2 separate regions of the Homo sapiens genome follow, and region 1 is linked to region 2. The links are contacts of gene promoters, found by promoter capture Hi-C in human tissues and cell types (Jung and others, 2019). All regions are on one chromosome and are shown on one strand. The core of a region is centred on a gene start or on the middle of the fragment in contact, and the rest is flanking DNA. Distances in the headings are between cores, read along the strand shown. Region 1 overlaps LOC107986620 (a long non-coding RNA gene). Region 2 holds the start of RIPPLY2 (ripply transcriptional repressor 2).

What was found. Contacts are between HindIII fragments. The study calls those that stand out against the background at their distance.
Region 1: a contact is called between a fragment that was not itself captured here and the fragment with the promoter of RIPPLY2 in region 2, in 1 of the 25 tissues and cell types used here (lymphoblastoid cells).

Annotation. Positions count from the first base shown.
Region 1 is chr6:84,372,737-84,375,658 of GRCh38, reverse strand. The region is part of intron 1 of LOC107986620 (a long non-coding RNA gene); the gene reads right to left. It overlaps LOC107986619 (a long non-coding RNA gene), which reads right to left. Exons shown (of 3, transcript XR_001744234.1): 3 at 2,805-2,922. Among named protein-coding and RNA genes, the nearest start is that of LINC01611, 100 kb to the left of the region's middle. The HindIII fragment of the contact is 4,858 bases long and covers 1-2,922 here.
Region 2 is chr6:83,852,078-83,854,930 of GRCh38, reverse strand. RIPPLY2 (ripply transcriptional repressor 2) reads right to left here and starts at 1,571. Exons shown (of 4, transcript NM_001009994.3): 1 at 1,420-1,571; 2 at 1,158-1,236; 3 at 770-834. The coding sequence starts at 1,514. It overlaps RIPPLY2-CYB5R4 (RIPPLY2-CYB5R4 readthrough), which reads right to left and starts at 1,571. Exons shown (of 18, transcript NR_174604.1): 1 at 1,420-1,571; 2 at 1,158-1,236; 3 at 770-834. The HindIII fragment of the contact is 6,654 bases long and covers 1-2,853 here.

The DNA of each region.
Region 1 (2,922 bases), core at 320-2,819, 520 kb before region 2:
TTACATGTAAGACCTGAAACTATAAAATTATTAGTAGAAAACATAGTGAAAACATTTCCAGACATTGGTTTAAACAAATATTTTATGGCTAAGACCTCAAAAGCACAGACAACTAAAACAAAAATAGATAAATTGAACTATATGCAACTAAGAGCCTTCTGAACATCAAACGAAACAGTTGACAGAGTGAAGAGACAACATGTTAAATGGGAGAAAATATCTGCAAACTATTCATCTGAGAAGGGACTAACATCTAGAATATACAATAATATACAAACAACTCAATAATAACAAGGCAAAACAAATATTTCATTAAAATGTGGAAAAATGACATGAATAGACAATTCTCAAAAGAAGACCTAAAAATGAACAGCAGATATATGAAAAAATGCTCACTATCACTAATCATCAGGGAAATGCAAATCAAAACCACGATAAGGTATCATTTTACCCCAATTAGAATGGCTATTATTAAAAAGACAAAAAATAAAACAGCTTTCTCTGCCATGCCTGCACCTCTCTCAACCATGCTGCTCCTCTTCCTCCTTCTCCATACTCAAGCCCCACTCATGGAAGTGCTCAAAAGTTATCTGGAGTTGCCTCAGGCACATCTCCCTGCAGATAACCTCATGCAGCCTTTTCTCTCCTCTTTGTCTGGCCAGGCTGGGCTACAAGTTGAGTGGAGGGTAATCCTACATGCACACAGCTGGGCCTGGCTGGGAGCTGAAAATGGTCACATAGCCATGGGAATGTCTTAACATATTCTTACAGGACAGGAAAGATGTTTCAAAAATATGTCATTGTGAGAAAGTTCTGAGGTTGATATGAGATAACCCAATATAAAGGATACTGAACAAAGTAAGGGATTAAGGTGAAACTTTGAAGAAGCTGAAGGAGATGGGCTCAGCCAAAGGATTTACACAGAAGAGCTAATGTTCTTGACTATGACATCTAATGAAAGATGCTGCCAGGAGGTCTTATTTAGAGTGGAGGAAACATGGTACATGCGACTATTTCCAGAAATGTTGAAACATAAGTAGACTTAAATGTTATCAGATCACCTACTGGTGTCAACAGCAGAAAGTGTCCTAGAATCCCAGATGTTTGGCTCATTTGCTATGCATAATATAGAATTCTCATCTGCTCCTTGGTTTAGAGGTGTGACACCATTTTACCTGCCCAGTTTTTAGGTCTGAGTTTAGATAAGTGTTTTAGAATAATAGAAGGCAAACACCATGTATTAGTCCATTCTCACACTACCATGAAGAAATACCCAAGACTGGGTAAGTTATAAAGAAATGAGATTTAATTGACTCACATTCCTGCAGGGATGAGGAGGCCTCAGGAATCTTACAACCATTGCAGAAAGAGAAGCAAACGTCCTTCTTCACATGGTGGCAGCAAAGAGAATGAGAACCAAGCAAAGGGGGAAGCCCCTTATAAAAACATCAAATCTTGTGAGAACTTACTATCATGAGAATAGCATGGGGGAACCACCCCCATGATTCAATTACTTCCCACTGGGTCTTTTCCATGACACATGGAGATTACGGGAACTACAATTCAAGATGAGATTTGGACGGGGACACAGCCAAACCATATCACACCACTTCTTAAGTGATATGTTTTTGCCCATTTTCTAAAATAATTTTTCTGGCTCTAAAAGTAAATACTTTCATTGTAGAATATTTGAAGAACATACAAAACTCATAAAGAATAAAATGAACTCACCAATAATTCCATCAATCAGAGATAAGCATAATTAACATTTTGATTCTGTAGTTGCAGTCCTTTTCTCTACACAAACATGTAAATTTCTTATTACAAAAGTGTGGTGATACCTCACATACTATTTTCTAACACAGTCTTCCACCTCAATTTATTGTGAACATTTTCCAAATTGTTAACAACTCCTCTAAAATAATCCTTAGTGGTTGCTTCAGATTCAATTATGTTTATACACCATAATCCATTAATCCAGTTCCCTATGGTCTAAGATTTAAGTTGTTTTCTATTTTTCGCTATTACCAAAAGCACAACTTTCTTTAAAAATAGTAAGGAATAAATTGCTATTGCCATTACCACTGAATTTTTTTTAGAACACTACACAAATACATTTAAGGGAGCGAAAAAGCCAGAAAGAAAAGATGACTTTGGTAGCAGTGTTGAGAATTTTTAGAGGCTGGTTTAAATAAAGGTTAAGATGACTTCAAGAAATAAGTTCTAATCACGAATGGGAGAGATAACTAGCATTTGAGCAAAGAGTATAAGAGAAAGCAGAACTACATACAGAAATGTTGAAAAGGAATGTGAGGAAAATTAAAAGAACAAGGCAATGTAGAGTGCAAAGCTGAGATCTTAAAATTATTGTTTAAGAAGCAATTTTGTTGACTTTAATGGCAAACCAGTCAGGTGCTAAAAGTGTCGAAGGTTCATAAAACAGTCTGATGCAGCAAGCTTGTAGACAAGGACTGTGTGGCCTCCTTGCTCACAGCTGTGTGCTGGGTTTTAGCATCGAGCCAGTCCAGTTAACATACTGACTGGTGGTAGTTACAGACATGAAATTGTACCTGCATATAATCTAAGTAAGATAAAAACAGTGCAAGTCTGCAAAATTCTATCCACATCCAAAGTGTCTCTGAGAAGTCGAGGCCCTGGTGATTTATTTGTCCTACACCACAAGTAACATCATTTTGAAATGATTTTTAAACCAAATTATTTTCTTCAACTTGAAATAGAAACATGTGAGGACATAAAGTAGAAAAAAAATTGAGTCAGAAAGTGTTTTTCTCCATATTCCCCAACATTCAGAATTACTTAGAGAGACCATGGATACTTTCAAAGAAAAAGTATGGTTATGATTCCCCAAGACTCTTCCCTTGTTCTAAGCACAACCCAAGCAATAGCCCATTAGGGAAAGCT
Region 2 (2,853 bases), core at 322-2,821:
TCCATTACAACACTTGCCATGTGCTGTGACTACTTTTTCCTGTGTCCTTCACCAGTGCTAGCACACGGTAGGAAATTAGATGTAATGACTTCTATGTGTTATTTATGACCAGGGGCACTTTACAAACATCATCCAGCTCTTCATTTAACAGCTCTCGGAGGCAGGAAAACTGCAGAATTCTTAACATTTCACCTGAATAAAAGTGACACAGAATCTTAGATAAAGGCTGACTTCCTGTGACTAGGAACAGTAAACTAGCTCCGCAAGTTAAATAAACTTTTGACCCTTTCTATAACCATTCTCAATAATCTTTAGGATTTTCATTACATTTCTATTTTTTCCTACTCGGCAAACTTGTAAGACTGTAACTGTTAATCCCATTCTTCCTTCCAGATTGCAAGACAAAAGCAGCATACACACTCTGCCTGATGCGAAGTCAATTTCATTCGAACCCTTTAGGATTTAAAAATAAAAACTGTTTTGCCAGCACAAGATGTCACCGCTCTCTTACCATATCATCCCCTTTCCCTCTTCGTAATATATTCATCAAGTTCACTGAGTATGTATTCATCAACAGTCCCTTTACGTGGGACCGTGAGCCCCTACCTTTTTCAATTTGATGAGTGAGAAGATAAGTAACCTTGAAGCCAGATTTTCAGAGAGAGAGAGAGAGACTGCAGGACCAGCTGCGGAGCTGGGCTGCGCGATGCCCCTGGCTCCTCCCTGGGGCTGGAGGAGCGGGAGACCTTCGGCGAGGCCTGTCACTCACCTGACTGGGTGCCTGAATTGGTAAAGCTTTCCTGAGGCTGCGGTCATTCCAGGGCCATCGGGCATCTGGAGAGGAAAGGAAGTGAATCCAGTTATCACCCACCTCCTTCTAGAAAGTGGAAACGTGCACGACCCAGTGTTCCTCGTGCCCGCTGGGAATGTAACCCCAGGGCTCTCAGCAGCCTCGCTCCCGGCTGGGTGCCTGTGGCCCATCGCTCCAGAGGACACATCCGCCGCGTCGGCACCTTTATGGCCACCGGCAGGCGGGATGTTAAGCGAGAGGCAGGACCCGGTGTCTCGCATGTCTCTCTCAGGCCCTGCGTCCCGAGAGCCCTGGTCGATCTTCTGCACCCGTGGGAGGCGCGGCCTGAGACGCGTGGCTCACTCACCGCCTCCGCGGCGTGGTTCGGCGTCTCCTCTTCTTTCTTGCCTCCGGCGTCCACCCAGGGTCTCCAGAAGCCTGCGTATCTGCGGGATAGGGGAGCACAAGGCGCGCAGAGGAGACGTGAGCCCAGACCCGGGAGAATCCACCGAAGCCGAGCGCTGGCACCGGGCAGTGGGGGATGGAGAGTTGGAGGGGAGGAGCTGGGGAGGCGCAGGAGGGAGAGACGGGGGAAGCTGGGAGGCGCAGAGCAGCGCGGGGAAGCCTACCCGGAGTCCGCGCCCGCGCGCCGCGTAGGGCCGTCGGTGGCCGCGCACGCCGCAGCTCCACTCTCTGTACCCTCTGCGCCTCCCGCGTTCTCCATGACGCCGCAGAGCTGGGCGGAAGGCCGCTGCCAGCTCGCGGGCAATCTTGACCAGTTCCAGTAGGTCCGAGACCCGAGCTTTATATAGCCCTCGCGGCCTGCTGCACATTGAGAGGTTCGCTGCCTCTCCGCCCCTCTCCCTGCTAGCCGCATAAACAAAAAGGCTGCGCGTGAAGGCGCACCGGGCTGAGCCCCGGGTGTGAACGCGTGCAACTCCCAAATGGCCCGGGACAGGGTTTTGTCGAGCGAATGTTAATCGCCCTTCGACACATGGCTGCGGAGAAAAACAACATTCGCCCGAGCAGCCAATTTCCGTGTGAAGAGGCCAGGAGGAGATGGAATTAAGCGAGTCTACACGTTTTGTGGATTTCTGCAAAAAGGCCAAGTGACTGGTTAATTGCTTGATTCGCTGGAGACTCAGGACTTGGCCTGTGGCAAATCAACTGGTTCTGCATCCCGTGTTCTAAAAGCTGGGATGCAGACTAGAATTCAAAGGAATAAACTTAATTCCTCTTCATGGAACAATTTTCTAAAAAATGGGGAGAATGCATGGACTCCTTAAGAGAGGAATGTCGGTTTTTTAAAAAAGTATTGATAAACTAGGTTCATACTCCAGCCTATTATTATTTGAAGATAATAGAAAATTATTGGCAACAAGAGGTAAATTGTAAAAGATTCGCTGTTCTGGCTAAGAGAGCCAGAGACTGGAGTCATGTGATTTGGGCATAGAGCTCTAAATTATCTTCTCGTGTCTTTTGTGATTTTCCCCAACATTTTATCAGTGTCCTCCTACAATAACTTTTGAGTTCGTCTATACACCTCTGTCACTACTTGGTATTTTGTCACTCAATGGTAATTACAAAATTCTTTTTTGAGGGCAGTGTTGTGGAATGATAATGAAATCTTGAAAAGTTATGATATGAGACAAGTTAATCAAACGTCTGCACCCCTGTTTCTCTGATTTGAGTTACCCCTCACTTATCTACCACTAAACTTTGTAAAAAGTGTTATGCATCGAGGAAAAGATGATATATAAATGTTATAATTTTTTTCAAAATGTTTTAAATAATAAAACTGGACTTTCTCTTAAAAGTTTAGACAAAAATCTTGATTGTAAACTATAGTTGTCTCTGCTATTCATTCAGCTACTGCATAGGAAAATAATTTAATTATTAATAGTAGCTAAGAGCCTATAATGATCTACCTGCCAGGAAGGTGAGATTTGGGTTGCTTCTGATAAGAAAATCAGTAAGGATAGATACCTAATGCATGTCTGCATCCCCTACAGTTATTGTTAGGCTAAATAAAATAAAGCTTATAAAATGCGTTTTGCAGTGCC